3 separate regions of the Homo sapiens genome follow, and regions 2 and 3 are each linked to region 1. Evidence: promoter capture Hi-C in 16 types of primary human blood cells and fetal thymus (Javierre and others, 2016). All regions are on one chromosome and are shown on one strand. Each heading gives the region's core, a stretch centred on a gene start or on the middle of the fragment in contact. The rest is flanking DNA. Distances are from core to core; before and after follow the strand shown.

Region 1 (3,420 bases), core at 540-3,039:
GTTTTAGCTGAATTCCCAAGATAATTGGTTTCAAGTACTTTCACTTTCCAAAGTATGATACTGGGTCACCAATGCAAAGCTTACAAAATCTTGTGACCATTAGTTGACCTCTCTTGTGTATTTGGAGACATTGAGAGAAGTTGAGAGAGGCAGTAGATTATAAGGGCTTAAAAAAAAAAAACATATTTGGCTGCTGCTTTAATGAGGCCAAAAAAGCAAAAAAGTATGAGTCATGCCTTTCATGACTTCAGCCCATGGGAGAAAAATAAGAGCCCCTTTTCCTTTGCTTCACATGTAGGAGAGATGGTGCTCCATCTCCAAGCACCAGGGATATGTCACCCTCTCCAAGTGGCTCCAATGAGGTTGCTAGGTCCCCTGGGGCTTAGAGACATGGTGGGCAGGTGTCTGACCCTTGACTCATGGCTGACTTGTGTTCTGCCTGGCCATGGAGCAAAAAGATGTGTTAGTGGGACAAAGAAGGCACATGGGTTTCTCAGGAAGCTCATGGGGACCCACGAGAGAGACAGATATAAATAAAAAGAGAGAGAAAAAGCGTGGTGGCACCGGGATGTCTTAAATCCTGCCCAGAAGGATCTCTAGAACTCTGGAGACCTCTACAGAGTGGATCACCAGGTGCCTCAGAATGAGAGAGGCATCTTAAGCCACCAGCCTGCATCACAGAATGGCAGACAAGAGATTCCTACCTAGTTGCAGGGATGGGGAAGAAGGCAGGGCACTGCTCCTTCCATCATCTGTAAGATCTCTCCATCAGGCCCCCACCTATCTGTTCACCTTCACTTCCTACCAGTTTCTGGCTTCATGAGGCCACACCACCCCACTTCCTGCTGCCATTCAAACACAAGATTGTCTCTGCCTCAGAGGACCAAGTTGGCTTGGAAGGGATTGCCAGACTCACAGAACTGGCTTCTCATTATCGCTATGCTTCATCTCAAACACCACCTTCTCAGCAAGGCTGGCCTTCCCAGGCACGCTGGCTAAAGCATTTCCCAAGCCTTGGTCATCATGGCTTTTTTTGTTTGTTTGTTTTTAACTTTTCTTGGCTGTACACCCACCAATCACGAGTATACAGCTTAACACATTTTCAACAAACGGAACGCAGGTATTGACCCAGCATTCAGATCAAGGGCCAACGTAAACACACTGGCAAAGGATTGCAAGAGCCCTGTCCACAGCAGCTGAGTTCTGCCAGATTCTGTAAATTCATGCAGCCTTACACCTGCACTGGCCAATACTGTAACTGCTAGCCACACGTGGCCACCGAGAGCTTGAAAGGCAGCTAGTGCCATTTGTTGAAATGATAACGTTTTGGACTTACTGAGTCAAATAAGAAACGACACACGTGGCTCTCATCATGTTTCTATTGGACAGCGCTGCCCTGGAGCCTCGGCAAGTCATTTGGCTTCTTCGCGTCTTTCATGTGTCTTCTCCAGACTGTAAGCTTCCTGTGGACAAGGCCTGCTCCGTTCAAGGCTCAATCTCCAGCTCCTGACACACCATGCGCTAGGTGCTCAGTCACTAATGGTCTCGCGAAGGAGTGATCAGTGAGTGAAGCAGGGGCTGCTGCATGGGAAAGGTGAGCGGGCTGGAAATGGGTAGTCCCCGCGGCGTCTCCCAGTCGGGCTCCTCCCGAGGAGGAAGGAAGGAGAGACCCCAGGTGTAGTCGAGGGGCCGGGAGGGAGGAGGGGAGGGTCGCTCCACCCTGGAGCGGGAATGCTGCAGGGCAGCTCCGGGTCGCCAGGCGGCGGTTTCCAGGCAACGACCGAACACAGACGCGGGCTAGACGCTGGCGCTGAGCAACCTGAGGCCTGCAGACTCCGACTGGGCCCCTGGGCGGGCGGGACGGACCGCGGCCAAGGCGGGGGCGCTGGACGGTGGCGGCATGGAGGACGACGAGGAGGAGACCACCGCGTCCACGCTGCGGGGCAAGCCCAGGCCGCCGCCCGTCTCGGCGCAGTCCGCCTTCAGCTACATCCCGCCGCGGCGCCTGGACCCCAAAGAGCACAGCTACTACTACCGCCCGGCGCGGGTGAGGACCGCGGACTGGGCGCGGAGACCGGAAGGCTGGGCGGCTGGGCGGCTGGGCGGCTGGGCGGCTGGGCGGCTGGGCGGCTGGGCAGGGGCGGGCGGCCGCGGAGGGGCGGGGGAGAAGGGATCACCCCAGCGGAAGGGTCTTGGGGCGGGGCTCTCCCTCGGAGGGAGGGCGTAGGGGCGGGGTTCACCTTAGGGAAAGGGGCCTGGGGGCGGGGCTCACCTTAGGGGCGGGGGCCTAGGGGCGGGGCTCACCTTAGGGGAGGGGGCCTGGGGGCGGGGTTACCTTAGGGGAGGCAGCCTGGGGGCGGGGTTCACCTTAGGGACTGGGGCCTTGGGGCAGGGTTCACCTTAGGGGAGGGGGCCTGGGGGCAGGGATGCGCCGCCGGGGACTGGAGAGAGGAGCTCACAACGAGGAGGGGCCCTGGGAGGGGCTGCACCGCTAGGGATCGGGGACAGAGCTCACAGAGTAGAGGGGCCCTAGAGGAGGAGCGCACCTTCGGGCAGGGACCCTGGGGGCAGGGCTTCACTACCAGGGGTGGGTTCCGAGGGGCGGGGCTGGACAGCCTGTGGAGGGGGCCGGGTGGGAGCGTGCGGAGATGAAGGGGGCGCGGCAGGGTCAGCTGGGGAGACAGGGAGGGTGAGCTCCCGCCAAGGCGCCTGGGCCCCAAAGAGTACAGCTCAGGCGACTACCAGTGTCAGCTGAACCCCTGGGACGAGGATGTGGGAGAAGCCGGGTGCGCGAATGGGTGTCTTAGCTGCGATCAGGGGCTGGGAGTCGCGGGAATGCTCAGATAGGACCCGGTGCTCTTCGGAGAAGGGAGCGGGAGCCACTAGGTGTCAGGATCCCTCAAAAGCACAGTGGCTCTGTCGGGACAGCAGGGCGCTCTTTCTGCCCAGGGTCTGGAGGGGGTCGCGGGAAGCCGGGGCCGCCCAGCGGGCTGGGCGCGGCTCCCTCTGGGGTCTGTCTGCGGCAGGCCCAGGCTAGCAAGGAAAGAAGGCCTTGCTGCCGGGACTACGCCCGGATGGTCCAGGGCGCGGGAAACCCTCTGCCCTCCTGCAAACCGAAGACCAGAAGGAATAGCTGGCGAGCCGCCTGCAGGGAGGGCTGGACTGAGAGTGGTCCCTCTGTTCTGTCCTGGCCACACCGGCCCGTGCATTTCCTGGGATGGGATCTGCGAGTCTGCGAAGGCCACTGGGCACCCTGCATCTCCCACCAGCGGCCAAAGGCAGGAAAAGTAGTAAATTCAAAGCCAGTTGAGGGTCATCTACTCCTTTCTTCTCACCATTGTTCCTAAATGTCCCCGGTTTGTCTTGCTCAAGATGCAGGGGCAGGGGAGTCATTACTGAAAAGGAGCATTCATTGAGGAC
Region 2 (3,447 bases), core at 522-3,021, 1.0 Mb after region 1:
ACTATGACAATTATTGATACATCAATCAGACAAAAAATTCAGCAAGAATAGTTGAACAATACAATTGACAAGCTTTCCCTAATGGATGGATACAGAGTTCTATATTCAAAAGTTAAAGAACATCCATTTTTGTCAAGGGCACATTTATAACAATGAATTACATTTAATAACCGATCAAGAAAGTCCCAGTGTGCATCAAAGAACACCACTTAGGCTAGACAGCTCTATGTTTGCTTAGGCAGAGTCCTATAAACTCAAACACAAAGTCCTTGAGATCAAACCCAACCTCCACCCAAGAGGTGACTCTCCCAGAAACTTCCTTTAAAAGTTCTAAGAATGAAATCACTTCTCTGCCAAGGTACCACCTGCTAAGACTCAAGCCTCAATAGAGTGCTATATCTCCTTGAGTTCAATGACTCTTACTTCTATTTACTCACACAAATGAACAGAGTGTTGTACCAAGCAGTACAGTGACCAGTTAAAGCCTGATGGAACACGGTGTGAAGTGGGACTTTTCCTATTCTTTAAGAATTTTGGCTAAAGCCGCAGAACTTAGGACAGGTTGATGAGTGCATCATCATTCTAGAGAGAGAGGCATTGAACACTTTGTGACCCAACTTAATAAAAACATCACAGATCTAGCCTGCTAATTAGCATCAAGCTCCATCACACATCTCCAGCGTATGTAAGAGATGACCTGGAAATGTACAAAGTGTTGCAGTGAACTAGCAGAGAAACTGGTGGCCTAATTTGGAGCGACATGTCTTTCTTCTCCTCAAACTCGCCCTTTAAAAAGTCTGGGAGGCTCCCAGGGGATCACTCTAAGAGGCTGGGACTGCCAGCAAGTTTCCATGGGCTTCCCCCTGGCTGGAGTTTGGCCGGCAGAGCTACAGAAACTCCCAAGTCCATCTTGCTGTGCCCCCTTTGTAGACCACCGTGAGACAGCTCTCAGGGGAACCTGTCCATCTCAAAAAGGACAGACATCTCAAGTCCTCTGGAAAATTGAAGGATGTTTTAGGATTTCCAGATTCCTCAAGCTGAAGCACCCACATGACACGCAATCCTGTTTCTTGGTCGTTTTGACCACACCCTATTGCACGACTTGTCTGCACTGCTATGCACAAAGCTCTGCACTCTCTCACCCATCTGGTCAAGCGCCCCTCCTGGGAAGAGGACAGAGAAAGAAGGAGGACATTGAAACCATCATACATTGGAGGGCTGGCCTATGGCTTCCCACTCAGTATTCTGCTCTCTGTGTAAAGAACCCCATTCCTTCAACTGCTCCCTCTGCAAAATGGTTTCTAATCATTCACTATCCTGTCTACTCTTACTCCCTTTTGCCAACATCACTGTTCAAGTACATTGCCCTGAAATTGCAATAATTCCACTGCCAAGTGAGACGAATAAGGGAGAATAAACACCATTTCCTTTAAATGTTCTAAAACCCAGGATTTTTACTTACTCACTAATACAGCAAGTCTGAGATTCCTAAGGTCTCACATCATCACAGAGTTAGAGACCAAGTAATTTTAGCTGAGCCAGATCTCTTCCCCTCATACATCTGACTTTTTTCTGTTTGATAAGTTGGATAACTTATGAATATAGGGAAAATGTTGACAAAAGATTAAAAGTACAAATAGATTTGCATAATTTTTCCCCAAAAAATATAACTAAATCATAATAGTAATTAAAGTCTTGGCTTTCTTGTGTGTTTTTAATCCTTACCAATTTAAGTATTTTTCCAGAACAATTTCATTGTCTCCAAAAATAGTCCTTCACAAGACAAAAAAAATTAGCTAATAAATTCTTGCATGTAAAATGGCTCTGCATCTTATAAATATTTCACAAACATTTGCCAGTTTATTTGTTTTTCTAAATGGTTTCTTATTATTTCTTTGTTTAAAAGGTCCTGGGCCACGAATATATCATGTCCGGGGACTGCAAGATAACAAACGATTTTTTTTCTCTAATCACATTGTTCTTTACAATTTGATTTACTTCACTGTATAAATTCATTTTCTTGGCATGAGAACAGCTGTCTCATGGCTGTTGGGGGCAAAGCTGGAACTCTCAGGCAAACAGCCAGGCTCTCCCGTCTGGCCTGGTGTCACCACCATCCCTTAGGGCCTCTGCCTGAGACAACCCCCAACTGAAGGGCAAGCAACATCCCAGCCTTGTTTGTATCTGCAGGAGGATTCACAAGAGGGCTGACTCTTAGGAGGCTGAGATGACCATTTGCACTGGTGGATCCTCAGAGAGGGCATGGAGCAGCAGGGATGGGTCCTATGGAGGTGGAACAGGAAGCCAGGGTTCCGGCTCTTCCCAGCTTTGCCCACCAGCTGCAGCAGAGTGTCATCACAGTTGCTTTTGGTTTTCAATCCCCATCCCAGGACCTTACTGTGAGTCCAAGCTCCCGGCCCCTTCCTTTCTTTCCCTGTAGGTTCTCTCTGTGTTGCGCAGTTCTTGCAGTTATTTCAGGAAACTTGAAACCCCTAGCCTCTTAGTGAGCACACACACTCTCAGACCTTCAGCCCTTACGCTGTCACAATTTATAGTTAAGACCTATGTGGACCTGAAACCTTAACTGTCATCTGTGAAGTCCTCTTTGATACTGTTCCCTCACACTGGCAATGCTCTTGGGGGCACCCTAACACCTGGTTTTTCTAAAGTAACTCTAAGTTTAGCCACTATGGTGCCCTTCACTGCAAGGAAGACAGGGTCTCTATCACCAAATAGTGACAATCAAGTACATACGATAACGTTTATTTAAAGTGTAATATACTCTAAGTGTGTGTATTCGTTCAATTACACTAGTAGGAAATGTAGCAGCTAGCATTAGTGAGTACTCAGTGTACTCAAAGTGCTTTGTACACATTAATCAAATAAATGCAGTGACTTGTTTTATCCTCACAAAATGCACTGACATTGCTTTCAAGATCTAGTCCATTTTGCAGATGAGAAAAGTTAACTTGCCCTAGGTCCAGTGAGTGAAAGCAGATAACGGAGATTTGGGCCTAGGGAGGCTAGGTCCAGAGCCCATACTCATAACAAACACGTCACCCTCTCTAAACTGTACCACCCGTGAGTACAGTAACAGCTCATTCAGAACAACTAATATTCTCACGTGTTTCAGGAGCGCAAATGTAGGAGAACTCACTTCCAACTGAGGTAATCAGGGAATTTTAAGATGCGGGTTCAGTTACACCAAGACAAATATGACAGAAGTAGAGAAATAATTCCCATCTGAGGAGACTGTGCAAGCACAGAGGTAGCTTCCCAGCTGCCCTCCACCTAGTGCATCCCATTAGCACCCATCCTGACCTTTTTCTACTCTCTCAGGGGAATCGGAGCTTCCCTCATTTCCAAAACAGGAGCCACTTCACTGTACCTGCTGTAGCGACCACACACCATCAAATGGGACTTGTCCCACTCCAACTGTCTTCTTCT
Region 3 (3,409 bases), core at 581-3,080, 1.1 Mb after region 1:
GCGTAAGCCACCACACCTGGCCGTGAATCATTTTTTAATGTTAACTTTTGAGAATTTAGTTTAGCAAGACACAGGGTTCTTTTATTGCATTAATATGTCTAGCAGGCATATAGTGCTTATTTAAAGGTTTTCTGTTTAAACTCAGCCCAATCCTAGATACACTGATAAAATAAATTTTAGAGTCAGACAAGAAACCTCTTGTTCTCCCAGGATGTCTCCGAACGGATGGTCCTTCCGGGTGATGCTCTGGGGGAGTGGATGCTCTGTGGTGTTGCTGATCCATTTAGGCCAAAGTCTCCTCCTGGGTCTTCTGTCTCCTGTTACCCTCTTGACCAGTGGCATACCCACTCAGTAGCGGCCCTCCTGAGAACTAAGTCTCCACATTCTTTGATTAAGTAGATGCCAAACTCAGGGAGCATGGGGGATTTCATTATAGCAGGAAGGACTTGAGTCAGAGGGCAGAGAGATGTGGTCAGAGGTGTCCCCTTCATCCACCCTAGCTATGCCACTGGAAGTGCGCAGGGCCATAGAGGGAGGGAGAGTGGCAGGACTGCGTGACCTGGGGGGATCTTTGACCTTGACACTTCATTGCTCCATGGCTGCAGGCAACCTTACAGCTGGCTCTTACTTTCTCGATTGTTCCAAAGCATCCGTCTCACTGCTCAGCCCCTTCTTTGCAGTGTTTTAAATCTGCTACTTTCCACCTGATGCAGGAATTTGAATTATCATCTGCAATTTATGCTGCAAACAAGGAATGATTTGTAACTCTCTTTACTTTTTTTAAGACCACAGCAAGTGGCAGGAAGCCACAGTGAAAACTCCCATGAGGCGTCTCCAGGAAAGACCAAGTGACCTTTGTGGGCATAACTGTGAGGCCCTTCAAACCTCACATTAGAGACACACACTCACAATACATGCCACAAGCACACTCACATACACCTTACACACTACATACACAACACACACACACACAGCCCACTACACGCACATTATACACACAATACACACCAGACACTACACATACACACACAACACACACACACATTACATACATACACACACAATATGCCACACACACATTCACACCCTGCATATACAATACACACCACACACATACATACACACCATACTACACACATGCACATATGCTGATACACACAATACATAGCACGCACCACACATAAACAACTACATACACAATACAAACCATACGTAACACACACATATACACAATACACACCATACTACACACATGCACACATGCTCATGCACACAATATAGAGCACACAGCACACATAAACACACTACAAACACAATACACACCACGCACACAACATACCTCACATATACACATCCACCCAACACACACACACACACACACACATCATGCTCCACCCTCATTCAGCCCTCCCCAGGGAGCCCATCCTCTCCCTTGGTCAAGGGTTGGAGGAGCAGCAGGTTAGGGCTTGCAAAGGGAAAAGGAAGTATAGGTCATGGGGGACCCCCGGCCTCCCTTCACCTGCTTGCCCCCACCAATCTGGTTTTCTAAGCTGCCCTATTTCTAAGCTGCCGTATCACAAGCCAGCTCACTTTCATGCAGCTGCTATGTAGGCAAATTGTACGTAGATTTCATTCCTTCTAACTTCATTCATGCTAAACACTGCACACACTGGGTGCTTTATTTCATCTTCCTGCCTTTACCACCACAAGTCAGATGGGCCAAGCAGTCATTCTTTGAAACAGAAGGGTTTCCCTGAATAATGTGTCGCACCTGTCTCATCTTTCAATTTACTATGTTAACTTAAGAACCCACTTGCAAATGGTCAAAGATAATGCACATTAAACCAGTATTTGCTACTTTTGAGTTACCTGGGATGCTTGTTAAAAATAAAGAGCTCTGAGCTTTGCCCCCAGACTCCAGCATCATAATCTTTAGGATCAAACGAGTGAAACCACGTTTTTAGAAAACATTCCAGGGGATTCTTAGCACTCAGAAGAGGTGGAGCAGCCCAGCCTTAAACCCTGACTCCGATGATTGCACGTCACGTCCATTGCATCTATTGCGATGCACGGGAGCTCGTCCCTCCCTAGCTTCCAGCTGTCCTGGGTCAGTAGATTTGCCCTCTCAGCCTGGCTCCCTCCTTCTCTAAAGGGACTGGCAACAGTGGACTGTCTTCCGCTTCTTAGCTCATCTGAAACCTTAGCCAGACACAGCCACCAACTTGAGTGCTTCCAGATTCCAGAAGAGCTGGAAGCAACAGCCCCAATGTGATCTCCATTCTGCCTCCACATTCCTCTTTTGGAGGAAACCTGGACCTCCCTGCTCACAGGGCCCTGGTTCTCTCCACTGCTCCCTCCTCCCCTGAGGCCCAGGTAGCCACAGCACAGTTGGCCAGCCTGGGGGAGCATTTCATTCCAGCTCTTTCCCAGGGACAAGCAATTTCTGGCTGCTTGTGCCATTCACTCTGCCACTTTGTGCAACACTCTTCACTGTATGGACACGCGTGATGTTCTGAGTTCAGACCGTGTATTAATCAGGATTCTCCAGAGAAACAGAATCAATAGGATATATTACATACATAGGAGGAAGAGAGTTTGAGAGAGAGAAAAATTTTTTATGGGAATTGGCTCATGTGATTCTGGGGGCCCAGAAGTCAGACTGTCTGCCATCTACAAGCCAGGGAACCAGGAAAGCTGGTGATGTGATTCAGTCTCTGAGTCCAAAGGCCTGAGAAGTGAGGTAGGGGAAAGGGAGGGAGCCAGGAGGTCTGATACCAGAGGGCAGGAGAAGATGGATGTTCCAGCTCCAGCAGAGAATGAACTCCCCCTTTCTCAGCCTTTTTTTCTACTTGGGCCCTCTGTGAATTGCACAATGCCTGCCCACATGGGGGAAGGGAATCTTCATTTGGCTACAGATTGCAATGCTAATCTCTTCCAGAAATACCCTTGCAGACACATCCAGAATACTGTCTTACCAGCTATCTGGGCATTCGTTGCCCCAGTCAGGTTAACATATAAAATGAACCACTGCGACTGCCTCTTAAAAATCTACACAACTGTCTTTAGAAAATAGCACTTAAACAAGGTGTCATATTTTAAACACTGGCTATGAACAGTGTGCTAGACAAGATATATACATATTTCTGTTTTTTGTTTTTTGTTTTTTTAAGACAGTCTCACTCTGTTGCCCAGGCTGGAGTGCAATGGCGTGATCTCGGCTCACTGCAACCTCTGCCTCCTGGGTTCAAGCAATTCTCCTGCCTCCCAAGTAGCTGGGATTACAGGCACCTGCCACCATGCCCGGCTAATTTTGTATTTTTAGTAGAGACAGGGTTTCACCATGTTGGTCAGGCTGGTCTCGAACTCCTGACCTCAGACAATCCACCCGCCTCGACCTCCCAAAGCACTG

The links. The method cuts DNA at HindIII sites, captures the fragments that hold promoters and counts their contacts. A CHiCAGO score of 5 or more calls a contact.
Region 2: a contact is called between a fragment that was not itself captured here and the fragment with the promoter of CFAP90 in region 1, in 1 of 17 cell types (activated CD4 T cells). The highest score is 7.8, in activated CD4 T cells.
Region 3: a contact is called between a fragment that was not itself captured here and the fragment with the promoter of CFAP90 in region 1, in 2 of 17 cell types (total CD4 T cells and naive CD4 T cells). The highest score is 8.7, in total CD4 T cells.

Annotation. Positions count from the first base shown.
Region 1 is chr5:7,849,502-7,852,921 of GRCh38, reverse strand. CFAP90 (cilia and flagella associated protein 90) reads left to right here and starts at 1,789. Exons shown (of 3, transcript NM_001089584.3): 1 at 1,789-2,047. The coding sequence starts at 1,901. It also overlaps a transcript of MTRR not described here. The HindIII fragment of the contact is 6,768 bases long and covers 1,462-3,420 here.
Region 2 is chr5:6,803,008-6,806,454 of GRCh38, reverse strand. All of the region lies in intron 1 of LINC02236 (long intergenic non-protein coding RNA 2236), which reads right to left. Among named protein-coding and RNA genes, the nearest start is that of LINC02236, 8.9 kb to the right of the region's middle. RefSeq lists an enhancer at 2,188-2,688. The HindIII fragment of the contact is 3,393 bases long and covers 75-3,447 here.
Region 3 is chr5:6,783,438-6,786,846 of GRCh38, reverse strand. No RefSeq gene overlaps it. Among named protein-coding and RNA genes, the nearest start is that of LINC02236, 11 kb to the left of the region's middle. The HindIII fragment of the contact is 5,319 bases long and covers 1-3,409 here.